Regions from separate parts of the Homo sapiens genome. Here regions 1, 3, 4 and 5 are each linked to region 2. Evidence: promoter capture Hi-C in 16 types of primary human blood cells and fetal thymus (Javierre and others, 2016). All regions are on one chromosome and are shown on one strand. The core of a region is centred on a gene start or on the middle of the fragment in contact, and the rest is flanking DNA. Distances in the headings are between cores, read along the strand shown. Region 1 overlaps SLFN12L (schlafen family member 12 like). Region 2 holds the start of SLFN5 (schlafen family member 5). Region 3 overlaps AP2B1 (adaptor related protein complex 2 subunit beta 1). Region 4 overlaps AP2B1 (adaptor related protein complex 2 subunit beta 1). Region 5 overlaps AP2B1 (adaptor related protein complex 2 subunit beta 1).

Region 1 (5,227 bases), core at 879-3,378, 270 kb after region 2:
TTTCAAGACTGACACACTGGAAGGTGGTAATGTTAACACAGCACAACAGCACACCTCGCAGATTTATGTCTAAGAGATTAAATGGAATCATCACCTCAAAATTTTAATCCTCAGTTTTCACAAACACGATCAAGTCTCTATCAAATTTTCTGATTTATAGCATAATGCACTAGCCGTAAAAATGTGCATTCTTCAGTTTCTCCTACACTTTTCTGCCTATCTTTCAACACTGAGCCCTGGGTGTTTTCAACATAAGCAAGGCCATATGCACATTTTAATCTCATGTTTTAGAAATGAACAAAATCTGTGATATTTCAGTAGCTCATAGTGTACTTAAAAAATGAAAAGATCTCTATCAAAATATGCTTTTCACTGGGAAAAATAAATGAACCAAATGGATTTACACAAAGTAAACATTAACTTTGGTAGATTTCAATGTAGAATAGTTCATAACAAGCATATTTGCCCTTCTGCTCAACTACCAAGTTAAGACTTTTTCAAGTATTTTAACTGAGATTTTATTATGTTGACATTTGTTTCTCATTCCACATCGTCTTTGGCCAAGCGCCAGCACTTACAAGTCTCTGATTAACTGGTAGGGGCTTTGTCAGAAGCATCTGGATCACTGGTAGTGGAAGAGTTTGTTGTAACACTTGCAGTAACCACTGTGGCTGTCCACACACAGCACTTGGATTTGTCAGGTGGTCTACACCTTTAGCTAGGATCTCTTCACCAAAGCTATATCTCTTCCAGGAAGAATTTCTGGACAGCTTCAGCATCTTTAAGGTCAGCTAACTTGGAAAGCTCAACTCACTCCTCGGCCAGCTTCTGTTTCTTTCTTTATTCTGGACGCCTATTCTTTAAGTTGGGGTCACTTCAGTCTTTTGCGGTCGAAGTAGATGCAGTACCCGATGAAAAGGGCCCCGAATACTCCAGCGGCGATGGCTCCGTTCCGACCCAGCCTCTTCCCCAGAACGCTGAGTGTGGACTGCGGCGGTGGGGGAAAGGAGCGGTTGCCCACAAACCATCCGAGCACAGGGAGCCGCTCAGACCCGACGCCGGCGGGACAGGCACTTGGAAAGCAAGATCCAGGGTTCTGAAGATTAAAATCGTTAGTTCATTTACTATATTTGTGCAAGTTTGAGAGAGAGTCATGTGTATAGGATTACCACTGAGTTTATATTATTTTCTCTATGCCTGGAGAGTGTTTCTTTTGTTTTAGTTTATTTGTTTGTTTTGATTTTTTGCTTGTTTGTTTTTGAGACCTATTCTCGTTCTGTCACCCCAGGTTGGAGTGCAGTGGCGTGATCTCAACTCACTGCCACCTGCGCCTCCCAGACTCAAGCCATCCTTTCGCCTCAGCCTTCTGCGTAGCTGGGATTGCAGGAGCGGCCACCACGCCCGGCAATTTTTTTTTTTTTTTTTTTTTTTTTTGAGATGGAGTTTTGCTCTTTGTTGCCCAGGCTGGAGTGAAGTGGCACGATCTTGGCTCACTGCAACCTCCATCTCCCAGGTTCAAGCGATTCTCCTGACCCAGCCGCATGAGTAACTGGGATTACAGGAGCCCACCACCACACCCGGCTAATTTTTGTATTTTTAGAAGAGACAGGGTTTCACTATGTTGGCCAGGCTGGTCTCGAACTCCTGACCTCGTGATCTACCCGCCTCTGCCTCCCAAAGTGCTGAGATTACAGGCGTGAGCCACCGCACCCCGCCAGTGTTTCTTAAAGAGTTAGCATATTTAAAGAATTGGATGTTTTGGGCTTAATTTCTTATTTTTTCCCTGGGATTCTTAGAGACCCCCTCTACTAGATTTATATAAACACTTAGTAACATCTTCAAACTGATCAATATAGGACCATAGAATTTGAGAGACATTAATATCCTTATTTTCTAATATCCACTGAAGATAGTTTATCTTTCTGAGGAAACTATTTCCCTTAGTTGTCCTTCACATATCACTACCACTTCACAAGAACAAACAGTTTTTGCAACTCTATTACTTCAGCATCAAAAAGGTTGGGGTCCCTACTAGGGGCATGGAATCCTCTAAGATTCTTCATTCCATTTTCCAGCTCCCCAGCATATAGGAACCTCAGTGCACCAGGCATTAGTTGTCCTAAAGCAAAACATTCCATCACTTTGATCAGATTAAAACTCTAACCAGTTCTGCCTTTCCATTCTGGAATACGTGTTTAAGAAGGATAGAACTATACTCCTTCTTTTTGTAGTACAGGATTTGTCAGCCTTGACACTATTGAGATTTGTGGCTGGAAAATTGTTTGTTGTGGGGGGCTATCCTGTACCTTCTAGGATGTTCAGCAGTATCCCTGGCCTCTATCCACCAGGTACCATTAACACACTCCCCTCAAGGGGTGACAACCGGAAATATCTCCAGATATTATGTCCCTTGGAGGGCAAAATCCACCACCCCCTCCACTCTATTGAGAGCCACTGGTCTAGTCTAATGATGAGCAGATTAATTTTAACAATGAGCAGACCTATTTTAATGATCCATATACCAGTGCCATCCAACAGAAATATAATGCAATACATAAATGTGATTTTAATATAGTAAGCACATTTTTAAAAGGTAAAAATAAATAAGCAGCTTTACTTTTAATAAAATATTTTATTCAACTAAATATTTCCAAAATATTATCATTTTGACACGTAATCCATTTAAAAATGATTCATGTAATTTTTCATTCTTTGTCATACTAAGTTTTTGAATCCCAGTGTCTATTTTACACTTACTTGTCATCTCAATTTGCACCAGCCACATAGCAAGCACTAATTTTCTACACATGGCTAATGTGTGCCATGGGCACTGCAGTCATATACAGTGACATCCCGCAAAAGCCAGAATAGTCAACATAAACAAATTAAGAAAACAAACAAATAGCAGTGAGGGCACAGATCTTGGTTTTTGCCATTCTTCAGTAAAAGGAACCAGAGCTTCTTGGAGAAATGGCTGATTTTAGGGCTGGGGCAGAGAAAAAAAAATCACAAGCATTCCTATACACCAACAACAGACAAGCACAGAGCCAAATCATGAGTGAACTCCCATTCACAATTGCTACAAAGAGAATAAAATACCTAGGAATACAACTTACAAGGGACGTGAAGGACCTCTTCAAGAACTACAAACCACTGCTTAAGGAAATAAGAGAGGACACAAATAAATGGAAAAACATTCCAAGCTCATGGATAGGAAGAATCAATATTGTGAAAATGGCCATACTGCCCAAAGTAATTTATAGATTCAATGCTATTCCCATCAAGCTACCAGTGACTTTCTTTGCAGAATTAGAAAAAACTACTGTAAATTTCATATGGAACCAAAAAAGAGCCCATATAGCCAAGACAATCCTAAGCAAAAAGAACAAAGCTGGAGGCATCACACTACCTAACTTCAAACTATACTACAAGCCTACAGTAACCAAAACAGCATAGCACTGGTACCAAAACAGATACATCAACCAATGAAACAGAACAGAGACCTAAGAAATAACACCACACATCTACAACCATCTGATCTTCGACAAAACTGACAAAACAAACAATGGGGAAAGGATTCCCTGTTTAATAAATCATGCTGGGAAAACTGGCTAGCCATATGCAGAAAACAGAAACTGTACTCCTTCCTTACACCTATACAAAAATTAACTCAAGATGGATTAAAGACTTAAATGTAAAACTCAAAACCATAAAAACGCTAAAAGAAAACCTAGGCAATACCATTCAGGACATAGGCATGGGCAAAGACTTCATGACTAAAACAAAAGCAATTGCAACAAAAGCTAAAATTGACAAATGGGATCTAATCAAACTAAAGAGCTTCTGCACAGCAAAATAAACTATCATCAGGGTGAACAGGCAACCTACAGAATGGGAGAAAATTTTTGCAATCTACCATCTGACAAAGGTCTAATATCCAGGATCTACAAGGAACTTAAACAAATTTACAAGAGAAAAACAAACAACCCTATCAAAAAGTGGGCAAAGGATATGAACAGACACTTCTCAAAAGAAGACATCTATGACCAGGTGTGGTGGCCCACGCCTGTAATCCCAGCATTTTGGGATGCCGAGGTGGGTGGATCACTTGAGGTCAGGAGTTTGAGACCACCCTGGCCAACACGGTGAAACCCCATCTCTACAAAAATACAAAAATTAGCTGGGCATTGTGGCAGGTGCCTATAATCCCAGCTACTCGGGAAGCTGAGGGAGGAGAATTGCTTGAAGCCAGGAGGCAGAGGTTGCAGTAAGCCGAGATCGTGCCACTGCACTCCAGCCTGGGAGACAGAGTGAGACTGTATTTAAAAAAAAAAAAAAAAAGACATTTATGCACCGAACAAACATGAAAAAAAGCTTACCATCACAGGTCATTAGAGAAAAGCAAATCAAAACCACAATGAGATAGCATCTCACACCAGTTAGAATGACGATTATTAAAAAGTCAGAAAACAACAGATGCTGGAGAGGATGTGGAGAAATAGGAACACTTTTACATTGTTGGTGGGAGTGTAAATTAATTCAACCATTGTGGAAGACAGTGTGGCAATTCCTCAAGGATCTAACACCAGAAATACCATTTAACCAAGCAATCCCATTACTGGGTATATACCCAAAGGATTATAAATCATTCTACTATAAAGACACATGCACACATATGTTTACTGCAGCACTATTTACAATAGCAAAGACTTGGAACCAACCCAAATGCCCATCAATGATAGACTGGATAAAGAAAATGTGGCACGTACACACTATGCAGCCATAAAAAAGAATGAGTTCATGTCCTTTGCAAAGACGTGGATGAAGCTGGAAGCCATGATTCTCAGCAAACTAACACAGAAACAGAAAACCAAACACCACATGTTCTCACTTATGAGTGGGAGTTGAACAATAAGAACACACGGACACACAAAGGGGAACATCACACACTGGGGCCTGTCAGAGGGTAGGGGGGCAAGGAGAGGGAGAGCATTAGGACAAATACTTAATGCATGCACGGCTTAAAATCTAGATGACAGGTTGATGGGTGCAGCAAACTACCATGGCACATGTATACCTATGTAACAAACCTGCACGTTCTGCACATGTATCCCAGAACTTAAAGCAAAATAAAATAAATAAAAAAGAAAGAGCTTCCAATGGCTAATACTAGAACAATTTGAGGAACTAAATAATGTAATATTGAAATATAACCCAAAATATTAAA
Region 2 (5,836 bases), core at 3,337-5,836:
CTACAGGTGGGCACCATTGAACCCTCTAATGTTTCCTTATAGTTACTTTCTATTGTGCTGTTTTGTTTTGTTTTATTGGGTCAGGAATACATAAGAAATAAAAATTGTTCTTTTAGTGGCATGCAATTTAATTTGTCCTGTTACTAATGATGTTAACTTTGATCACTTGGTTGAGGTGATATATTCCAGGATTCTCTGGAAAATTAGTGTCTTTTTCCTTTGTAATAAATAGAGCATCTTGTGGGGATATGCTTTGAGACTCTGTAATTACCCTCAGTGTGCTAAAGATCTGAGGGGATATAGAGAGAAAATTCTGAGTCACACTTTCATTTCATGTAGCTGAAAAAGCAACTTAAACATTGGACTTGACTGAAATTAAGCTTGGACTTAACTGAGCTCCTTCAGGAAAAGCTTAATTACTTACTGAGACAGGAAAATCATCAGGACACTCTCGGATCTCAATGTGGGTACTGGGAGTGCCAGAGAACCAAGATTCTCCCTCCCACTCTCTCTGATGTGTGTGATTCATATGAACATTGATAAAGGATGTCTCATCCCTCCTTCAAGTAAACTTGTTCTGACAAAATTTCACCACACTTTGTCAAATGGCAAACATTGTTCCTAAGAAACATCATATACGTGTTTATGCAAATTTTGTTTTTTAAACTTTTTATCAAGAAAAGAAAAAAAGTGGAAAATATGTTTTTGCCTGAAAAGTGAATATTATAAACAAGTAGCTTGGGTTTGAAAGATAGTCTGTGGAAACACAGATAAGGCTCTATGCTAAGATGCTTGCTGCTATAATCCTCAGTCCCCTAGTAAAAGTTTCTGCAAAAAGCTTGGCCAGCCATGATGCCATTGAGCATTGACCCCCATAATCAATCTCCCTGTGACTCTCACGGAGAATGCTGAAGCAAATTTTCTGTAGTGAGGGATCTGTAGACCATGGCATGCAGCCTCCAGTCTCACTGTGCAGACTGAGGACAGTGACACAGGTCATTGACACACGGCTGACCTAGGCAGTGATTCTCCCTACACTAATACAGTGATTCTTTCTGTGAGAGACTGCCTGCCCTTAATAAGATAACATGCCCCTTTGGCCGGGCACAGTGGCTCACGCCTGTAATCCCAGCACTTTGGGAGGCCGAGGCGGGCGGAACATGAGGTCAGGAGACTGAGACCATCCTGGCTAACACAGTGAAACCCCGTCTCTACTAAAAATACAAAAAAAAAAAAAATAGCTGGGTGTGGTGGCGGGCACCTGTAGTCCCAGCTACTCAGGAGGCTGAGGCAGGAGAATGGCATGAACCTGGGAGGTAGAGCTTGCAGCGAGCCAAGATCGAGCCACTGCTCTCCAGCCTGGGTGACAAAGCGAGATTCTGCCTCAAAAAAAAAAAAAAAAAAAAGAATAACCTGCCCCTTTAACCTACCAACTCTCTTCTCCTCTTTAGTTTGTTGAAGCAAAAACAACGTAAATATTGCATTAACCAAGTGTGTGTATGAGAGAGAGAGAGAGAGGAGAGAGAGAGAAGAGAGAGAGAGAGAGAGAATGAGCAGTTATGGCTCTTGGCATTTTTTACTGGACAAGGCAAACCTAAAGATTTTACTTTTAAACTTGAATTAATGCTGAGAGTAAGTCACATCTGCCCTCACTTCCCTCCCACTCCACACAAACATGCATACCACTGGAAAGGCAACATTTTATCAAAGGCATTTGGCGTTTTTCCTCTCTTATGACCCTCTAGAAGCTTGAGAATGTGGGAGAGAAGGGCTGGAACCAGAAATGGAGAAGTAGTGCTGGAACAATAATGACCTGAAAGCCAGTGGAACTGAGGTCTCCTGCAGGAACTTTTGGGGAGGCCTGGATACTTTGGAGACCAATGGGTATGGATGGAAAGAAGAGCAGAAATGATTCAGCTCATAAAGCAGTGAAAAGGAATGATCTAAGTACATGAACAAATCTTTAAAGCAAAATGTTAAAGTGTGGGAGCAAGTTCTACAGAACACATACAATATGATACTTTTTTTTTTTTTTTTAAAGAGACAGGGTCTCACTCTATTGCCCATGCAGGGGTGCAGTGGCACAATCAGAGCTCATAGCATCCTTCAACTCCTGGGCTCAAGCCATCTTCCCACTTCAGCCTCCTGAGTAGCTGGGACTTCATAGGCAGGCACCACCACACCCAGCTAATTTAAAACAATTTTTTTGGCTGGGCGCGGGGGCTCACACCTGTAATTCCAGCACTTTGGAAAGCCGAGGCAGGCAGATCATGAGGTCAAGAGTTCGTAGACCAGCATGGCCAATATGGTGAAACCTTGTCTCTACTAAAAATACAAAAATCAGCTGGGCGTGGTGGGATGTGCCTGTAGTCCCAGCTACTTGGGAGGCCAAGGCAGGAGAATTGCTTGAACCCCGGAGGCCGACATTGCAGCAAGCCGAGATTGCGCCACTGCACTCCAGCCTGAGTGACACAGCAAGACTCCGTCTCAAACAAACAAACAAACAAACAAACAATTTTTTTTTTTTAGAGATAGGGTCTTGCTATGTTGCCCAGGCTGGTCTCAAACTCTGGGCCTCAAGCCGTCTTCCCTCTCAGCCTTCCAAAGTGCTGGAATTACAGTCGTGAGTAACTGCACCTGGCCAACATGATGCCATTTACATGCAGCTTAAACGCATATACATGTGTTGAATCAGTGTCATGTGTTGATGAGGGACATAAACACATTTACTAAAAGTATAAACAGTTGCATGGGAATTAGTAACTTTAAATTCATAAAATTGTACTGGCTATCAGGTGAGTAGGGGACAAGTGGAATGAGGGAATGAGACCAGCTGGGTACCCAAATATTGCTAATGTTATTGCTTAAGCTGTGTGGTGAATACACAGGTGTTCAATTTACTATTATTTCGCACTTTCCGTGTACTTTAGCTATTTGACAATACATTTAAAAATCGAAAACTTATCCCATAATCCCAGGCTCCAGAGGTGATAGTAGGTGGTGTTTTCCAGACCTTTCCCGCTGCCTTGATTTTCTGTTAACTGGCCACCATCCTTGTCTCCTCGCGCTGCCGGTCGCTGCAGAACCCCTGCGCGGAGGGACTGCCAGTTCCCAGGAAGGTGCAGGACAGCTGGAGCCTCTTCTTCTCTGGGCAGGGATTTAAATGTTCTTGGGTAGCCTCGCCAGAGACCTGTGCGGCCCTACAGTGACCTTCTTTCCAGCCACTTTCCCATGAGCTCAAAGCTTTGGATTCTGTCACTTGCAAAGGGTCAGGCCTGATCCCTTGCGGGTTCTTGAGAAGTGAGTAAGACTTCCAGCGCCCCGGCCCAGACTGCGACGACCCAGACTGCGACGACCCAGTCTGCGCCTGGCGCAGGCTCCATAGACGGCTTTTCTTCAGCTCTGTCCACTGAGACCTCGAGCCCTTGAGCAGAAGATGGGAGAGAGAGGGTCTTGCTGGGCGGGCTCCAGAAGTCCTCCTGGCTCTGGGCGCAGGAGTTGGAAGAGAAGAGATAGAGAAACATCTACTCACCAGAATTGTAAACTGGAAGAAGGGTAGAGGAAAGGTGCCTAGAGAGGGCAGCTGGAATCAGGATTGGGCTGAATATTTTAGGAGTCCCCAAGTGCTACTTCTATCCGCTGGGAGCACGGGTTCGAATCTGCCCCCAGGCAGCCCGCTCCTGGTTCTCTTGTCCCCCTGTGCTGCGGCGGGGCCCACTTCGGCCCTCGGGTTCCCCGCACAGGCCACACAGGGCAGCAGCGCGCGCCGTACCCACGGGCAGTTCGAGAGGGCCGCGCGTGGCGGAGCCAGGCCCTTCGCCAGCGCCCAGTACAAATTTAGTACTAGAATTAAGAGAAACACACTGAAATCTGACAGCCCCGCCTAAGACCCGGGCGTGAGGAAGTCTGCGGTGGGTGATGAATACAAAGAACAGTTTCTCTTTCCTGTCAGTAAAACGCTGTTTCCAGAGCCTGCCAGGTTTCGCCCCAGTGGCCACACCTATGCCTGGCAGGTGCTGGTCCGAGCCCCTAGCGCCAGCAAAAGAAAGGAGGCGGACGCAACATTCTCGAATTACTAGGAGAAGGAGGGAGGCTTTCCCTTCCCCCCAGTGCCCCATGTACCAACGCGTCTCGCCATACCCCTTGCCCCTCTTCCAGCAGCTGACGGAGTAATTCGAGTAGGAATCGAAAGATTTGGAGGCGCCGGGGGAGAAACCTGCGGAGCGCTCTCCGAGCCTGTGGCGTCCCAGGAAGACTCCGAGCGGGGCCAGGGAAGTTCTCTGGAGGACATGGGGTGGATACCCAGGTCTCCTTCCCTGGGTGAAATAAGAACTGAAAATCTAAAAATAAAATAAATAAAATAAAATAGAAAACACAGAGAAGCAACAAAAAAGCGCTTCCCCTCCTCAGTTCTCCCCAGTCCACCCAAGGTTTACCAAGACTGTTGTAGTTGCAAGAGTGGGCTTCCGGCTCCACGTAACGATGCGATTGGGCTGTACCTCTGTCTGTCTCCTGCGCGATGTCCCGCCCCGGGAGGTGTCACGGAACTCAGCTGATATAAGCCCGGGATCCCGCCGGGTCAGGTTCTCTGCTCTGGACTTGGGAGGCTCCGTTGCCTGCTCCCGGAGGGAGACGCGCTGCCGAGGAGAACCCAGCGGGTAATGAATCCCCCGCGCTTCTTTGCCCAGGCCTTCCCCAAACCTCCCCCCGGTCTGCGCGGGTTCTCCTATTGGGCTGTGGTGAAGACAAGGTGCGGCGACTGCAGCTCCCCAGGTCTGGGCGCTGCCGGGAGAGAGTCTTTCCCGCTGGGGAGATTTAGTTTGTTGACTCAGGAGCACCTCCAACGACAGCTAGTGGCAGAGGACCCGGGAGCTGGGAGGTTCGGAACGCGGGGCGAGCTGGGGAGGAGGGAGAGGCGCCGACCCAGCGCAGCCTACATCTTAGCAAACCAAACCTGGCAACATTTCCCCACGGTTCAGGAGCACGAAGGACTTAAGGGAAAACGACGAAATCGGGGCTCCCGAGGATGAAGTTAAATGGGTTGTGGCCTGGGGACAAATAGGGCCAATGTCCAGTCTATTACAAGAGGCTTTGTTCCAGAGGCTTGCCTATAAGCCCCTGGCTTGGAACGTCAGTCTTCAAACTGTAACAACAGGGGCAGGCTACTAGGGTAGCCCACAAAGCCCTGTATCCCCCATACAGTGACTAACTAGAGCCCTAGTTGGTCATATCCGCAGTGGCTGAGACTGCGGTGTGATTCCGTTTCCCTCTTGCATGTGTCCCGGGAGCCCGAGTTGTCGAAGCCCAAATTCAGGCTCAGGAACCTGATGTGCTGTTGATGCCAAACACTGACACACAGATGCTTGGAGACAGAGGAAGATTTATTCCATTTGGCCAAAGCGAGAAGGCAAGAGGTCAAGATCTCTCAAATCCACCCTAACAAAAAGAAGTAGTGGGGAGTTTTTATGAGACCAGGAAGTAAGGGAGGGGGAATTTCAGGGAACCTCGGGGAAAAGTCTTTCTTCGTCTCAGATTACATCTTGAACCACCAGACTTCTGGGCGTCAGCAGCTGGTCACAATGCCCTTAAAGGCATTCATTCCTTCTGCAAAATTTTTTTCTTGACTCTGAAGCTATATCCTCCTGCTTGACAAAGAAACGGTGCATCAGCAGTTTATAATTATATTGCTAGAAAAAGGAATATTGGGCAAAAAGTGGGTAGTTAACATATGCAAATAAGCAAGGGCCTCATCGGAATTTTCATGGTTTCATCACTAAAAATGTTGGGGTGCTGAAATCTTGAGGGGCTCGGTTGCACCAGAAGGGGATCCTTTGTC
Region 3 (5,737 bases), core at 634-3,133, 370 kb after region 2:
ACCATTTTATGAAAAATAACATTTTTCTTCTCAGAAAGCAGTATGTATTTTGACTATGTGCTAGCCAGCACGTAGACACAGCATGGGATTATGATGGTGGTTCTCAACCAGGAGTGATTCTACTCTCCAGAGGACATTTGGCAATGTCTAGTAACATTTTTTTGGTTGTCAAACCTGATGGGAGGAGTGCTACTGGCATATATCGGGTAGAGTCCAGGGATGTTTTCAACATCCTTCAGTGTACAGGACAGTCCCCCGACAACAAAGAATTATCCAGCAGTAAATGTTAATAATGCCAAGGTTGTGAAACCCTGGATTATGGAAATAGCACTGAGGCTTCAGAGCCAGAGTGGCTGCTGTTTGAGTCCTGGCTTGGCTGCTTACTAGAAATGTGGCTTTGAACAAGTTATTTAAAATGAACTTCAGTTGTCTTATATGTAAAACTGAGGTAATAATGCCGATTTTAGTGAATTATTTTGAAGATGAAAGAATAATGTATTTAAAATTTTAAACTTTGCCTGATATATGGTAAATGCTTAATAAACTGCAGCTATTCTTGAGGAAGTGGCCTAACATTATGCACCTTCCGGTTGTTATAATCTTCATTTAGGCATTAGGAAGTTTACTTGTGTGGTGATTTGTTGTCAACCTAAGATGATAAAATATTGAAAAAATGCCATCTGTCTAGATCTCTTTCTAAGAATTTTTGTCAGAATATATTTGGTATTCATGTAGGCTATGTTAAACTGCCTATTAAAGGTAGGCCCAGAATGCATAGAAAAACTTAATGACTTAACTTTATTTAGTACGTTAATTATAGGATTGTTGTTATCCTTAAATATATATTAGTAAGTAACAATTACAAAATTAAAATATTATACATAAATGAAATTTAAAATGTGTAATACTTTTCATATCAAATGTCCATGAAGGAGTTAGAGCTGGCAGAATTTTAGGCACATATGATAATGTCAGTATGTGGTGAGCACTTGATAAGAGTAACATTGAAGGTAATACATTCAGTCTGTATCTGAGTTCCTCAAATTGTGTTTCATATTATAAAAGGAGCTGCTGTTAATTTTTGCAGGATTGAAGTTTGGGTAAGTGGAATCATTGGGGGCTGCTTTGATATGAGGCCAACTTCCCAGCTCTTGAATTTCCCACCAGTTGGTCTGAGTGTATTTCTGTCTCTACTTATAGAGAAAGCAAACACTTTTTGTTTTCCTTTTATAATGTGCTTTGTGGAAATCATTTTCTGTGTATTTTCACTTTTAAAAAATCATTACGTCGTTTTATATTATTATGAACTTAGGTTTTAAAAAATATCTCTTTTTTTTTTTTTTTTTTTTTTTTTTTTTTTTTTTTTTTGGAGACGGAGTCTCGCTCAGTCGCCCAGGCTGGAGTGCAGTGGCGCGATCTCGGCTCACTGCAAGCTCCGCCTCCCGGGTTCATGCCATTCTCATGCCTCACACTTCTGAGTAGCTGGGACTACAGGCGCCCACCACTACGCCTGGCTAATTTTTTTTGTATTTTTAGTAGAGACGGGGGGTTTCACCGTGTTAGTCAGGATGGTCTCAATCTCCTGACCTCGTGATCCGCCCGCCTCGGCCTCCCAAAGTGCTGGGATTACAGGCATGAGCCACCGCGCCCTGCCAAAATACCTCATTTTTTAGAGGAACAATTTTAAATTTACAGAAAAGTTACAAAGACAGTACAGAAAGTTTTCATATACGCTTCAGTCAGTTTCACCTAATGTTAACATCTTACGTAACCGTGGTACATTTGCCAAAACTAGGAAATTAGCATTGGGATGTTACTATTAACCAAAGTAGAATTTCACCAGTTTCAACACTAATGTCCTTTCGCTATTCCAGGATTCAGTCCGGAATACCAAATTGTGTTTAGTCACTTCCTTTTATAATGCATCAGTCTACTCTGTTTGAAGGTAGCTCGAAAACAGAAAAGTGCTTTACAACCATGAAATGGCATTTTTCATCCAGTCACCATAGCATAGTGGTTGAAACTCAGGCTCTAGAACCAAATAGATTTGGGTTTGTATCCTGGTTCTGCTATTTCTTAGACGAGTGGTGTCTCTAAATTTTAGCATCCTCATCTACAAAGTGGAGATTACAAATAGTGCTTCTATCGTAGGATTGTTGTGAATATTAAAGGACAGAGGGCTTGCAAAGCACTTAATACTGGTCCTCATATGGAGTAAGCCCCTAATAATAACAAACACATATCCTTTTTTTTTTCTTAAGAGACAAAGTCTTGCTCTGTCGCGTAGGCTGGAGTGCAGTGGCACAATCTCGGCTTACTGCAACCTCCATCTCCTGGGCTCAAATAATTCTCCCACTTCAGCCTTCTGAGTAGCTGAGAGTACAGGCACATGCCATCATGCCTGGCTAAGTTTTGTATTTTTAGTAGAGACAGGGTTTCACCATGTTGGCCATGCTGGTCTTGAATTCCTGACCTCAAGTGATCCGCCTGCCTCAGCCTCCCAAAGTGCTGGGATTACAGGCGTGAGTGAGCCACCATGCCCAGCAGAAACATATATTCTATATTGTACAGTGATTGTAGTGCCGGATATTAATAATTTTAGAAGGGTTAGTATTTCAGTGGCAAAATTTACTTTTTAATTTTATAAGATTAAAATTTTAAGGTTAAGATTAAAACTTTTAGGATGAAGAATTTTAAAGATTAAATTTTTTAAAGCTCTGAGGGCAACTTACCCACAAATGAAGCTAAATCTAAGAGTACTACTTACTACTTTTACAAGGTAATTATTCAAGGGTGTACGTTTAAAGTAGTTCTCAACAGCAACTTCCTGAAAGCTGGATCTGTTGTGTGTTGTTTTGGTGGTTTGCCAGTATATCAAGGCTCATTTGTCACTTTAAGATGACCTCAAGGCTGTAATTTGGCTGGGGAATACTTTACTCTTAGAAATGGGGAGATCATAAGTGGTGTGATAATAAGTGTTTTATTTTGTTCAAGTTGCAGCTTGCTTTAATGAATTTTAGGGGCCATGGTCCAAATAACTGTGATGGTTATAGGCATGCCTTTTATTTGTTTATCGATATTTATTTGTAGTGTTTTGGCTTTGAGAGTACTTGAATTTTGTTAAATCATATCTTAAACCACTTAAGTAATGAATTTTATTTTTTGTAAACCTTGTTACTATGTAATCAGACTTTCTTTTCATAATGAGATGTGTTGGCTCACTAGGTAGTTTTACCTCTCATTCTAAGGAAGAAGATGGGGAAAAAATGGAATATTCTAGATTGTAATGTAGCAGGCATATTAACAGTTGGCATTCTAGACAGTGTTTTGGATTAAAGTATAAGCCCTAAGTTTTACTTGTTTGACTGGTACTGCAGTCATTGTCTCCTTAAGGAGATAATAATGACTGAAACTCTCAGAACAAATATGTTGTCCTATGCCTCACATGTCATTTGAGGTCATTCTGTAAAGGAGATAGCAATATTCTAACACTGCTAATTTAGAAGAGAACAAAAATATGTAAACCACCTGTGTATTTCCTCATAATAGTTTTGGTCAGTTACTCTACTTCTTTCACTTTATTCAAGTCTTCAGGGATACCAGCCAAAATAATTGTAAATTGAGCAGAAAAACTGAAGCATAAATCTGTTCATAGTGTGTGACCTTGAAGGTCATTGCTGGAAATCAAAGTCCTGTAAATAGTAATTTACTTAACAGGAAGAAGTCACTGAACTGGAAAGTGGTAAGTTTCTAAGGTTCCAAGGCCACGAAAATGAGTGAAATTAGAGTGCAAGGTGAAAATCATTTTAAGGGACAGGGAAATGGGTGAGAGATTCCTCATAAGTGAGCTTATGTGTGTGATATTCCACTCCCAGTTTATATCTAGATTTCCTTTGAGAGTCCTTTTTTTTACAGGGTCATTTTTATTCTAACCATACCTACTGTACCAGCTCACTCCTTTTTTAACAAAATGAGGTCAAATTTATTATCCTCAACTGCTGCATATAAGACAGGTATAGATCATAAATCATATTTTATAGCTAGGTAGTAAATCTTTCCCTCCCTAAGTACTGTAGGATATGATTATCTCTGAAATGTATAAAGTAGAATACATTTTTCTCCTTGTATATAAATCTACATGTCACCTTTGCTGGAAATAATGTTTGGATTATATTATCCTCCCCTACTCTGAATCTTCTTTCCCTTCCCTTGGTTGAAGTTCACAAGTCTTGGAAGCTCTATAAATGCTGGAGACCAAGTATTAGTACTCAGACACTGGAATCAGATGCAGACCTTGAGTTCAGATTCAAGCAGGAATCCCTTTCTGGCTGTGTTGACCCTAAGCAAGTCACTGAACTTCTCTAAGTCAGTTTTGTTATCTGTAATAGGTGGCTTTTAGTAGCAGCTACTTCAGAGTTGTTATGAGGATTAATAGCACAAAGTAAATATTCAATACATTTTAGCTATTCCAGTCTTTTATCTCTGTAAAACTCATTCTATTAGTATAATGTAAGTAAAAATACAAATTGCTTATCATTAAAAATTCAGGCTGGGTATGGTGGTTCACACCTGTAATATTAGCACTTTGGGAGGCCAAGGCAGGAAGATTGCCTGAGGCCAGGAGTTTGAGAGAAGCCTGGGCAACATAGTGAGACCCTGTTTCTATTTAAAAAAAAAACAAAAACAACCAGCAGATTCCACAGGTCCATAAGGAAATATCATATTGAAGAGAAGTCTGTAATTAAGGCGGAGAAAGATTTGTCTAGGATTGAGTATGATTTTACACATCTACATGTGCTGCTTTTATATATATGTTTGTGTTTAATATCTATCTCTGTAAAGTATACATAATTGGGTTAGCTCTTTGAGGGGATGTGAGGGGTGGGGAATGTTTAGTTTCAGTCTCCCCAAGAATAGAATTTACCATAATTGGGAGGCAAGATGAATAAAGGATTTTTTTTAGTTTTTTATTTTACTTTTATCTTTTTGGAGACAGAGTCTCATTCTGTTGTCCAGGCTAGAGTGCAATGGTGTGATCTTGGCTTACCGCAACCTCTGCCTCGCATGTTCAAGTGATTCTCGTGCCTCAGCCTCCCGAGTAGCTGGGATTACAGGTATGCACCACCATGCCTGGCTAATTTTTGGTATTTTAATTAGAGACAGGGTTTCACCATGTTGGCCAGGCTGATCCCAAGCTTCTGGCCTCAAGTGATCCACCTGTTTCAGCCTCCCAAAGTGCTGGGATTACAGGCGTGAACCACCGTGCTCGGCCAAGGATTTATTTTTTTAATGCTGCAAATGTGTCCCTTTGTCACCTGGATGCCAACTTTTTATAAATCAACTTGTGCTGAGGAAGCTCTCTTAAGAAACCCTATTTGTAGGCCAGGTACCTTATGGTGGCTCACACCTGTAATCTCAGCACCTTAGGAGGCCAAGATGGGAGGACTGCATGAGGCCAGGAATTTGAGACCAGCCTGGACAACATAGTGAGACCCCTGTCTCTACCAAAAAAAAAAATTAGCCAGGCATGGTGGCATGCACTGTGGTCCCATCTGCTAGTTCAAGATTACAGTGAACTATATGATTATGCCACTACACTGTAGCCTGGGTGACGGGCAAGACCCTGTCTCTTAAAACCAACCAACCAAACAAACCCCAAGGAAATCCTATTTAAAAATTCATTTTTAAAGCGAAACTTTCTCTAGAAACCCCCCTTTTTGGCTGGGTATGGTGACTC
Region 4 (5,670 bases), core at 2,458-4,957, 400 kb after region 2:
TTCTGATTGTCTTTTTTGAGATGGAGTCTCACTCTGTTGCCCAGGTGAGTGCAGTGGTGCGATCGCAGCTCACTGCAACCTCCGCCTCCCGGGTTCAAGTGATTCTCCTGCCTCAGCTTCCCAAGTAGCTATGATTACAGGTGCATGCCACCATGTCTGGCTAATTTTTGTATTTTTAGTAGAGACGGGGTTTCACTAGCCAGGCCAGTCTCGAACTCCTGACCTCAGGTGATCCATCCACCTCAGCCTCCCAAAGTGCTGGGATTACAGGCATGAGCCACGATGCCCGGCCCACTTCTGATCGTCTTTAAAGATAGTGTTAAATGAAGCAGCTTGTAGTAAGTTAGCTTAGTGGTGGGCTCAAGAATTAGTAGATATATTTTGGCAAGGTAGTGGTTTATTAAGCATTGTGTATATTTTTAAAATTTTAGAAATAGTTATTTTGGAAAGAGAACCACATACTTTTACTACTCTCCCAATAAAGAAGAGGGTCGGTTTCTAAATTTTTTTTTTTTTTTGAGACAGTCTCACTCTGTTGCCCAGGCTGGAGTGCAGTAGCGTGATCTCAGCTCACTGCAACCTCTGCCTCCCGGGTTCAAACATTCTCCTGCCTCAATCTCCCGAGTAGCTGGGATTACAGGTGGCTGCCACCACACCCGGCTAATTTTTGTATTTTTAGTAGAGACAGGGTTTCACTGTATTGGCCAGGCTGGTCTCGAACTTCTGACCTCAAGTGATCCCCCCCACCTCGCCCTCCCAAAGTGCTAGGATTATGGGCATGAGCCACTGTGCCCAGCCTAAACTTTTTTTAATTAACTTTTTTGTTTGTTTGTTTTCAGACAGGATCTCACTGTGTTGCCCAGGCTGGACACATACTCCTGGGCTTAAGTGATCCTCTTGCCTCAGCCTCTCCAGTAGCTAGGACTACAGGCCTGTGCCACTGTGCCCGACATTTAAACTTATTAAGGGTGAAGATGTGTATCTGAATGTGATTGGTAGAGAAATGTATCCATTTCTGGTTTATGGTTAATAAAGAGTTAGGACGGTTTATGTTTAAGAAAGCAATCAAGAGCCTGGTTTAATCAGTAAAAGTAGGCAGATACTTAGTTAAGTGTGCTATTTAGTTGTCCACATCTAATTTATTATACAGGGTCATTCTAATCGTTAAAACTACATTAGCCAAGGAGATGGATTCAACATGGTAAGCCTGAGAGAGCTGTAGATATGTAAAAATAAATATTTTAATTACTTCTTTCTTTGGAGAAATAAGTCAGTGCAGGTACCTTTAGAAGAACTAACATAAAGAAAGATCTCTTTGGGGCCAGGCGCGGTGGCTCACGCCTGTAATCCCAGCACTTTGGGAGGCCGAGGTGGGCGGATCATGAGGTCAGGAGATGGAGACCATCCTGGCTAACATGGAGAAACCCTGTCTCTACTAAAAATATAAAAAAATTAGCCAGGCGTGGTGGCGGGCACCTGTAGTCCCAGCTACTCGGGAGGCTGAGGCAGGAGAATGGCATGAACCCGGGAGGCGGAGCTTGCAGTGAGCCGGGATCGTGCCACTGCACTCCAGCCTGGGCGACAGAGCAACACTCCGTCTTGAAAAAAAAAAAAAAAAAAGAAAGCTCTCTTTTATAAAAAGCAGAGATAAGTGGATTAAGGGACAGATTTACCATTTCTTGTCTGGACACTGTTGTTGTCTAACTTCATTTGCCTAAAAATAAAGTGGAATTTCTGTTCCTCTCTACCATGAAGGCAAAATGGAACAATAGGAAAATTTTCTAATGTACTTATATGAAAGATTGTTACAAATACAAGGTAGTGGTATTATCTTACACCACAGGTTAATTTTTCCTTGTAAAAATGGCAGTGTGGCTCGCACCTGTAATTTCATCACTTTGGGAGACCAAGGTGAGAGGATCACTTGAGGCCACAAGTTTGAGACCAGCCGGTCAACATAGCAAGACCCCCATCTCTACAAAAAAATTTTTAAAATTTAGCTGAGTGTGGTGGCACTAAATTGTAGTCCTAGCTACTTAGGAGACTGAGGAGGGAGGATCGCTTGAGCCCAGGACTTTGAGGTTACAGTGAGCTATGATCATGCCAATGCACTCTAGCCTGGGTGACAAGAGTGAGACCCTGTCTCCCTGTCTCAAAAAACAAAACAAAAGAACATCTGATGAATTTTTATAAAGGTTTTAAGGTCTAGGTCTTAAAAAATAATTGAAGGGAAATTTAAGTCATTAAAATCTTCTGACTTAAAACCTATTCATTCTCTTGACTAAAAGCTTTTACAGTTTGGTGGTTTGGTTTAGGGTCCCTTGTTTGTGGTTTTGCCTTTAGCCTTCACTGTTAAATTAGTTCTTAGTTTTGCCCTCAATAACCATAGTTCATTTTTTTTCATCAGGTATGAAAGTATCATCGCCACTCTGTGTGAGAACTTAGACTCGCTGGATGAGCCAGATGCTCGAGCAGCTATGATTTGGATTGTGGGAGAATATGCTGAAAGAATTGACAATGCAGATGAGTTACTAGAAAGCTTCCTGGAGGGTTTTCACGATGAAAGCACCCAGGTAAGTTCTTGTCTCTTGTCTATCCTAGTAGTTTTAGATGTCTTTGGGGAGATTTCAGAGAAAGCAAAGGTTATAGGCAGTTTCTTCTGTGTCTGTATTTACATATAGTATGTTCATTTTTCTCCCAACAGGGATGTCTCTTCTCAGTTTTACTAATTTTTTGTTTTTGTTTTCGAGACAGAGTCTCGCTTTGTTGTCCAGGCTGGAGTGCAGTGGCAGGATCTTGGCTCACTGCAACCTTTGCCTCCTGGGTTCAAGCGATTCTCCTGCTTCAGCCTCCCAAGTAGCTGGGATTATAGGTGTGCACCACCACACCTGGCTAATTTTTATATTTTTAGTGGAGACAGGGTTTCACCATGTTGGCCAGGCTGGTCTTGAACTCCTGAACTTAGGTGATCCACCCGCCTCGGCCTCCCAGAGTGCTGGGATTACGGGCATGAGCCACTATGCCTGGCCAGTTTTACTGATTTTTTTTTTTTTTTTTTTTTTTTTTTTGAGACAGTTTCACTCTTGTTGCCAAGGCTGGAGTGTAGTGGCAGGATTGTGGCTCACTGCAACCTCTGCCTCCTAGGTTCAGGCGATTCTCCCACCTCAGCCTCTCGAGTAGCTGGGATTACAGGCATTCACCATCACTCCCAACTAATTTTTTGTATTTTTAGTAGAGACAGGGTTTCACCATGTTGGCCAGGCTGGTCTCGAACTCCTGACCTTAGGCGATCCACTTACCTCGGCTTCCCAAAGTGCTGGGATCACAGGTGTGAGCCACCTTGCCTGGCCAGTTTTACTGATTTCTAATGTTAAAAACCTACATAACTCAGACCAGTAGTTCTCAAACTTCAGTGAGCATTATTAACACCTGGGGGGCATTTTTAAAGCACATGTTGCTGGGCTTCACCCTGAGAGTATCTGACTCAGTAGGTCTGAGATGTGCCTAAGTATTTGCATGTCTTACAAGGTTCAGGGTGATGCTGCTGCTGGCAATCCGGAACCACACATTGACAACCACTGGCTTAGAGCAGTAGTTACCACTACTTTTTTATTTTCTGTCACCTAAGAATGACTACACATTTCTGTTAGTAATGGCTGTGGCTCATTACAGCAGGGATTTTCGCTAGAGGCTGTGGTGAGGTTTGAAAAGATTATCTTTGGATGAAAATTCTGAGACTGCTTCTCACTTTCCCCTACCAAAATTAGAGCCACAGAACCAGGAAGCCAATAAATTATTAAGCCCTTTTTTCTTGGCATTTGTACTCAAAGCAAATAGAAAATAATGTATGTAATCTACTATAGCAATTTTAATAGACCTAATTCAAGGAGTATGTACAAGTCAATAGCTTTGTGGTTTAGCAGCCAACTCCTAATAGGCTGTAATCTGACATAATTCTACTGTCTTGGCTCTTGCCCCAGTACGACAGATGATTCCATAATTCCCCCCAAATTGTAGCTTTTGGTAGAAGTAAATAATGAAAGACTTGCTCAGGAGCCAATTTTATCACCATCAGTATGTTAACATATACTTTAAGAAATACAAGCCAGGCTCGGTTACTCATGCCTGTAATCCCAGCACTTTGGAAGGCTGATGCGGGAGAATCGCTTCAAGCCAGGGCTATGAGACCAGCCCTGGCAACATTGCAAGACTACATCTCTACAAACAATACAAAAATTTTAAAAATTAGTTGTAGTGGCTTGCACCTGTAGTCCCAGCTACTTGGGAAGCTGAGGCAGGAGGATTGCTTGAGTCCAGGAGTTTGAGGCTACAATGAGCTATGGATGTGCAGCCTGGGCAATAGAGGGAGACCTTGTCTCAAAATAATAATAGTAATAATAATAATAATAAACACAGGTAACTATCTGTCTTAGAAACAAGCAATATTTTGTGCCAAAAATGCATTTCGAGGTTAAAAGGGTAGAGTTTTCGGTTGAATACCTTTGTATTTCCCACGAATACTTTTGACTGCTGTTGTTGATATTGATTGAGTTTCAGCCTTTTGTCTCTTAACCAAAATCAGAAAGGCTCCATAGTAATTCATAGTTGGGGAAACACCACTTTGGAGATGATGGCAGGGAATAATGCCAGTGCCATTCTTTCACACTATCACAAATTATGTCTGTTTAGGTGCAGCTCACTCTGCTTACTGCCATAGTGAAGCTGTTTCTCAAGAAACCATCAGAAACACAGGAGCTAGTCCAGCAGGTCTTGAGTTTGGCAACACAGGTAAGAAATCTGGAAAAAGCAAGATGTTGATTTGTCTTGTTTCAAATTGTAGGAAATTATGAAACTCTTCCTAGGGGATTCATTTGGGGAAGCTTTATTTGAAGGAAGTATGGCCTTTAGATCCTGTTAAAATATTAAAACAATGCCTTTTTACGTGTTCAACTGAATTGTAGCTAATTCTGTGGCTTTTAAATGAGTTGACTGATTCCAGTTTTCATAATTCATGAAAATTGAACCTAGACTCTTAGTTTAGTGAAGGACATACTTAGATGAAAATGACGTGATCTGATAGTACCTGCTTCACTGTGACTTCATTTCAGCTTTCAAATGAAAGTACCATGTGGAGATAATAGATGCCTCAGTAAAGTTTCATGCATTGTTCTACCTTCCAGAGTAGTTGCCTTTCTCACAGAAATTAAGTGTTTATGCTGCTTCCTTGTATTATTTGATATATTTGGATCTCCTTGGAATTATTTGTTTTTTTAGGTCAGAAGAAAAGAAGTTTAGATGGATTCAGATCTCAGGAAAGTGGCAGCTGGCTTTAAATATCAGGTCATTATATTAGATCCACAGAAATCAAAATAATTAGGTTTTCTAGTGTAACTAGTATAATGATCATCAGTCCATTGATGATTTAGTAATGTTCATAAATGGATTTGCTAACAGGCCGGCTTTTTAGCAGGCTGTCAGAGTTACGATGTGTGTCTGCAAATGGAATATGATTCAGATATCCAGTTTACCATTTTTCTGTCTTTGTCATCCCTTTATACTGGTGTGTAATCAAAATTTAAAACCCTTTCACAGTACTTTGCCTAGTTCTGAGCCATAATTTTTCCTGTTACTACAACTTAAAAAAATGTATTTGTATGAGCTTTTTGAAGT
Region 5 (5,823 bases), core at 1,790-4,289, 350 kb after region 2:
TGAAAGAGATTCTTTTTATTGAAAGTTTCATGTCATAGATCGGCAAAATTGTTTTTTCTTTTGACCTTACACTGCTTCAGAATATATGTTTTGGAGTGATTCCAGCTTGAGGCAAGGAAGTTACCAGATTTTCCTGAATGGAAAGTAATTGCAGATATATTTATAAAAAGGTCCAGCTTTAGCTCTTGAAAGCTTTGAGGAGTTACTGTGGATAAAATCACAAAGCCATAATAGGTTCATACTTTTACCCAGTTGCATTTGGCCTTTAGATTTTTGCCCCATTAGCTTGAGGAGTTACATTCTTAGTTTTTCTTGAACCATCAACGGTGGTGATAAAGGAAGATGATACTCATTTTTAGAAATTCTTAAATATAAGTGTTCCTAAAATTAATTGGATGTTCTTAAAATTAATTGGATGCCTTGTTGGATATCTATAACCTGAATGAAGGAATTCTTTTCTCTTGCTATAGGTGCACATTAAAGATCCAAAGTCATGACTGACTCCAAGTATTTCACAACCAATAAAAAAGGTAAGTATGAGAATACAATCAAATCTTTTGAAATTTTCAAAAGTTGTAGTGTAAGATTGCCCCAGGCAGAATGCTGCTGACCTCTTCCTTCAGACATACATGTAGCTGACAATCTCACTGGACATCTACTACTTCTATAGATGAATGTATTCAAGCAAGTTATTAAAGAGTAGGTTTTAAAAGAGAGGGCTGTGATGCACATTATTATGACTTGAAGGTTCTGTTTAGTGAAAGAGACTCCTCTTTGCTGTTTGAGATGATCCATTGGAGATTGGTTAAGTGTGAGGAGGACAAAAGAAGCAGCATACTTTTTCCCTTTTATTAAATAATTTTTACTTGGAAATAAACATTTTATAACAAAGAATACAATTAAAGCAATACAGATATGTATGTAAAAGGTAAAAATGAAAGTTCTCCCTTCCTGTTCCTATTCCCAAGGGAACTTGGTGTATATCCTCAAGTCTTTTTCTCTGCATATGAGTGCATATATTAATACATATGATTTAAAATTTTTTTATCTTTAATGAAAAAGCAATCTTGCAAAACAATGAATAGAAATGAGTTATTTTCATATCCGTCCATATACATCTACCATGTTCTTCGTCTAGATGTATATTTAAAACGGAATCTCTAGAGCCATCTATGGTTTTTAGGTCATAGACGGAATTACTTGAGGGACTTTGCACTTATTACTCTCATCATCTTTGTTATCAGTAATATAATGCTTGTTTTTACCTATGAGTTTGGGTCTAGGAACAAAGGATTCTTCTGGGGAAAGTCCAACCCTTCATCTTTTGTAAAATTGTTCCTAAATAAAATAGATCATTTCTAGAAATGTGGAGGGTCTTCCCATCAAAGACAAACATTTTAGCCCATCTCAGCTTATTGTGCCTGTAGCTTAGCTTGCTTTATTTGTTGCTTAGGATCAGAATTCTGTGCTTTTGTGTTCAGGAGTCCTTACATTTACCAAAGTATTCCAGACATGGCGCCAACTACCATTCTTCTTTTTCTCTTGTTGCAGTGAGTTGCTTAATTATGTCAGTTTGTTGTCTGTAGCTTTCAGTCTTGGCAACACATCAGAATTGCTCAGCCAGGGAACTTTGAAATAATACTGATGCCTGGGTCTCAACCTCAGCCTGATTTCAGTTGTCCTGGATATGGTCTGGGTGTGAGGATTTTAAAGGTTCTCCAGGTGGCCAGGCATGGTGGCTTATGCCTGTAATCCCAGCACATTGGGAGGCTGAGACAGGAGGATTGTTTGAGTGCAGGAGTTTGAGACCAGCCTGGGCAACATGGTAAGACCCTATCTCTATGAAAAAAAATTTAAAAATTAGCCCTGTACGGTGGTGCACACCTGTAGTCCCAGCTATTTGGGAGGCTGAGGTGGGAGGATCACTTGAGTGCAGGAGGTTGAGGCTGCAGTGAGTCGTGATTGTGCCGCTGTACCCCAGCCTAGGCAACAGAGAGAGACCCTGTCTCAAAAGAAAAAAATTAAAAAGAAAGCTCCCCAGATTATTTTAATGTGCAGCCATGATTGAGAACTACTGCTAGCTGCTAACAGTGCTTGGTAGATTTGATTGGGGGGAGGAGGAGGGAGAAAATATAGGAATTTAATAAAGTTGTAGAATATATGACTTTGCCTCTTTTAGTACCCCTCTTTGGTCCTGCCCAACTTTTTCCTCCTTATTTTTATTACTTACACCTCACAAAAGCCATTAGCCACTTGTCATTCAGTCTCAGCTTTTTCTGATTTTCTTTTGGAAATATGTTTATTTCTTCTTCTGTTAGCATTTTGTGTGCTTTGACGAACAAAATGTCTATAATTATATAAAGGGATACAATTACAATTAAATAGTTATAATTTTAAAACTCTCCTAATTCTTCAAACCTACTCTTGAAAAGTGTCCTGGTGACCTTTTTTTAATTCAGGCATTTGTAAAAGTTTGAGACTGCAGATTGAATCACTGCTAATAAACATCATACTTAAAAAAAATTGATAGATTGTGTTCCCTGTACTTCCTGCAACACCCACCAGAACTGCCACTGAAACATATTCTTTAAATTTATGCTTTTGGAATTGGAATAATTTCTGTTACATCCTGCTTTGATTCTATAACACCTGCTGCTGTTCACAATTCAGACTTTCTGAAACCCCGCCGTTTGTCCTTCACTGTTCCCGGAAGTGAATGAGAGGAACTCTAAGAGCTGGATTTGGCAGGATGGGACATGGTGAAGAGTCCTATGAAGAATGACTCTTTAAAGGGCCCAGCTTTTCTTGCTATGCTACTTTTGTAGCTGTTGATTAAATAGAAATTTTGGAACAATTTTTTTGCCTTATTGGCCATGGATATTGAAACGAAAAAGTGCTCTACTTCTGTGTCTTACTAATTTCATCCTTTCCACATAATGGTTTCAGGCAAATCACGTAGTGTTTGTCCCCACTATTTCTTTCTTTTTTTTTTTTTTGGAGGAGGGGAGGTCAGGTTTTAATGTCCCAGTCCTCGGGCGCCGTCATCCCGCGCCTGCCAGGCCCGGCGGCCATGTCGCTCACTCGGGTGGCGGCCAGCCTGCCTCATCAGGGCCTTCCGCGGAGGCCGCCCCGTCGCCCTCGAGCACCAGCTTCACGTCCAGCTCCAGCTGCCCGGTGTAGAAGCCCACGGCGGCGCACACCCAGAGCGGGCTGGTGGCGAGTACAGCGCCCGCAGCTGCGCCCCCTAGCGTCAGCTGCATGGGCCCCCGCAGCGCTGCCAGGCCCCGCAGGCGCTGCCCCACACCGCACACAGGCCGCCCAGCAGGAAGAAGCCATATGCTGCTTCGTGATCCATGTCACTCTGCATGAAGGAGATAACCCCGATGCCCTATGCCAGGAGGCCATTGTGGAACCAGGAGAAGAAAGCTGTCTCGTGCGCCTTTCGGAGAGGAGCCTGGCGCCTGCACGGTCCAGCTCGGACACAGGTGGCGGCGAAGCCCCGTTGTGGGGGCCGTGGCCGGGGGCGAAGGACCCCTGGGCGCCCCCGCTCCGGGGCCACTGAGGCAGCAGTAGCGACCTCCGGAAGCGGAGACTGTCCCCACTGTTTCTATGCTGGTAAATGAGATCTGGTTGAAAGGAACGACAGGAACAGTCTTGAAGGTGGAGGAAAGTCTTTTGAGGCAGTATGGTAGATGAGCTGGAGGATGTAGATGGAAAGTTGAGATGGGAGTAGTCAACCTCTTTTTCATGGACTTAGTGTTTTTTTTCCGTTTCTTTTAAACAATATTAGGGTTGTTACTTTCTTTTTTATTTTGGTTCCGGCTTCTTGCAGATAGGTGAGCCTGGAGACCAGGCCTTAAAATAGTGGTTACAGTCCCTGACAGTTTACAGTGCGGAGCCTAAGCAGTCATTCAAGATTGTACCTTTGGAAATGACTCCATTGTGTACCATTCTTGGTTTCAAGATTATTCTTGTTTGATTGAATAGCAAGGGCCTTAAAGCCCACTGATTTATTAAAGTACTGATTAAAGTAGTGATTCTCAACATTGGGTGTGCGTTAGAGTCACTTGGTGGAGCTCTTAAAGGTATAAATATGAGTTCTCTTTGACATTATGATTTATTTGGCCCAGAGTGGAGCCTGTACTTTGCTATATTTAGTATTTCTCAGGTAATATTAGTGTGTGGCCAGGGCTGAGAACCTTTGCATTCAAGAGTCAGGAGACACAGTGCTAAGCCCAACTTTGTCACTGACTCTGTGAACTTTGAGCCTCATTTCTTAATCTGTAAAGCCGAGCGTGGGTAAATGAGGTAATACGCGCCTGCTCCCTACCTACGTTTATGTTCTCCTCCAGACTTTAACATTCTGATGGAAGATCATCCTTCATATACTGTTCTCTCCCCATTGTAGCTAGATATAATGAGATTTGGTTTTTCCCACTCTTGTGGTTCTTGAAGATCTGGATTGCACCTTCCTCTCTGGCCATAATTTAAAAGATTTTTAAAACTTACTGATGGCTTCCTTGTCAGTGAGTCAGGTAATATTCTAGGGCTTTGAATTTTATATATTCTATAATTTTAAAATCTTATTTTAGTTGCTGCCCTGCTATCCTGGTATTGGTTATTACATAGTGTAGTATTCTGCTCTAAGTCTGTGGTACTGGAACCTTACCAGTTTGCTCTCATCTCTTGCAGGAGAAATATTTGAACTAAAAGCTGAACTCAACAATGAAAAGAAAGAAAAGAGAAAGGAGGCTGTGAAGAAAGTGATTGCTGCTATGACCGTGGGGAAGGATGTTAGGTAAGAGTAATCACCCTTGCCATTGATCACTTCAGAGGTCCATACCCCATCTTATGGCCTTTACTGCTTTTCCTTTAAAAGTATCATAATCATAGAACCTCTAAGAATGGGTTTGTCCCACTAAAAACATCATTAGGAAGTGCAGTTGCCTTTGTATTAATGCTCTACTTTTTGTTTGTTTGTTTGTTATGGGGTGTGTGTGTGTTTGTGTTAGAACAGTGAAACGAGTTTGATTTCATTGCATTCAGATCTAGCATAACACCTCCTGAGAGCTGGCACAGTTACAAATCTTTTTGCTGAGGTCGTTTTAGAAGATGATAAAAATACACTGAGAAGCATAAGTTCACATGATCTTTAACTGGCTCAAGCCACTGCCCTCAACTTTACAACTGTACATTCAATTGCTGGATTCAAGATGAAAATCAATGTTAACCAAATCCATGTAGTCTTATTTTTTATTTCTGTAATTAAGACCATTTGGAAATAAGTAAGGACTATATGCAGGCCCCTAAGGATTATCCTAAGACCCTTTCGGGGGGTCCGTGAGGTCAAAGCTGTTTTCATAATAATACTTAGATGTTACTTGCCTTTTTCACTATTTGGATGTTTACAGTGATGGTGCAAAGCAGTGGTGGGTAAAACTGCTGGTGCCTCAGCATGAATGAAGGCAGTGGTGCCAACCATAATGGTAGTCATTGTATTCCTTAACACCATGTGCTAAAAAAGAGCAGTTTCACTTAGGAATGTCCTTCATGAGCAGTAAAAATTTGTTTTATTAAAACTTGAACCTTTTTAATATTGTGTTTGATGAAATAGGGATTACCCATAAATCTCTTCTGCTGCGTAGCAGTGCAATGGTCGACTTGAGAAAAAACCCTTGTGCAGTTGTTTGAACTGCAAACACCATTTTTATGTGAAAGAATGATTGACAGACAAACTATATTTAATCAGACTTTGGTATTTGGGAGATATTTTATTCAAAAATGAACAAAGTGAACCTGTCACTTCAAGGGAAAAAAATTGAC

What was found. Contacts are between HindIII fragments. The CHiCAGO score rates a contact against its expected background, and 5 or more counts as called.
Region 1: a contact is called between a fragment that was not itself captured here and the fragment with the promoter of SLFN5 in region 2, in 8 of 17 cell types (total CD4 T cells, activated CD4 T cells, non-activated CD4 T cells and 5 more). The highest score is 13.5, in total CD4 T cells.
Region 3: a contact is called between a fragment that was not itself captured here and the fragment with the promoter of SLFN5 in region 2, in 2 of 17 cell types (total CD4 T cells and naive CD4 T cells). The highest score is 5.6, in total CD4 T cells.
Region 4: a fragment that was not itself captured here is called in contact with the fragment with the promoter of SLFN5 in region 2 in 1 of 17 cell types (total CD4 T cells); the score reaches 6.1 in total CD4 T cells.
Region 5: a contact is called between a fragment that was not itself captured here and the fragment with the promoter of SLFN5 in region 2, in 6 of 17 cell types (naive CD4 T cells, activated CD4 T cells, total CD4 T cells and 3 more). The highest score is 9.5, in naive CD4 T cells.

The regions. Positions count from the first base shown.
Region 1 is chr17:35,514,226-35,519,452 of GRCh38, forward strand. All of the region lies in intron 2 of SLFN12L (schlafen family member 12 like), which reads right to left. It also overlaps the pseudogene TOMM20P2. Among named protein-coding and RNA genes, the nearest start is that of SLFN12L, 21 kb to the right of the region's middle. The HindIII fragment of the contact is 4,488 bases long and covers 1-4,372 here.
Region 2 is chr17:35,238,486-35,244,321 of GRCh38, forward strand. It overlaps SLFN5 (schlafen family member 5), which reads left to right and starts at 4,587. Exons shown (of 5, transcript NM_144975.4): 1 at 4,587-4,658. It overlaps LOC105371932, which reads right to left and starts at 5,666. Exons shown (of 4, transcript XM_047437262.1): 1 at 5,626-5,666; 2 at 4,437-4,734; 3 at 4,141-4,340; 4 at 1,558-3,485. The coding sequence starts at 5,666. The coding sequence ends at 3,038. RefSeq lists enhancers at 4,339-4,398, 4,919-5,028, 5,002-5,630. The HindIII fragment of the contact is 6,062 bases long and covers 3,242-5,836 here.
Region 3 is chr17:35,614,814-35,620,550 of GRCh38, forward strand. The region is part of intron 5 of AP2B1 (adaptor related protein complex 2 subunit beta 1); the gene reads left to right. Among named protein-coding and RNA genes, the nearest start is that of AP2B1, 30 kb to the left of the region's middle. The HindIII fragment of the contact is 6,619 bases long and covers 1-5,193 here.
Region 4 is chr17:35,637,188-35,642,857 of GRCh38, forward strand. AP2B1 (adaptor related protein complex 2 subunit beta 1) reads left to right here. Exons shown (of 22, transcript NM_001030006.2): 11 at 2,408-2,573; 12 at 4,690-4,788. Among named protein-coding and RNA genes, the nearest start is that of AP2B1, 53 kb to the left of the region's middle. The HindIII fragment of the contact is 2,341 bases long and covers 2,538-4,878 here.
Region 5 is chr17:35,593,538-35,599,360 of GRCh38, forward strand. It overlaps AP2B1 (adaptor related protein complex 2 subunit beta 1), which reads left to right. Exons shown (of 22, transcript NM_001030006.2): 2 at 471-530; 3 at 4,693-4,798. The coding sequence starts at 494. It also overlaps the pseudogene LOC100420062. Among named protein-coding and RNA genes, the nearest start is that of AP2B1, 9.1 kb to the left of the region's middle. The HindIII fragment of the contact is 5,699 bases long and covers 191-5,823 here.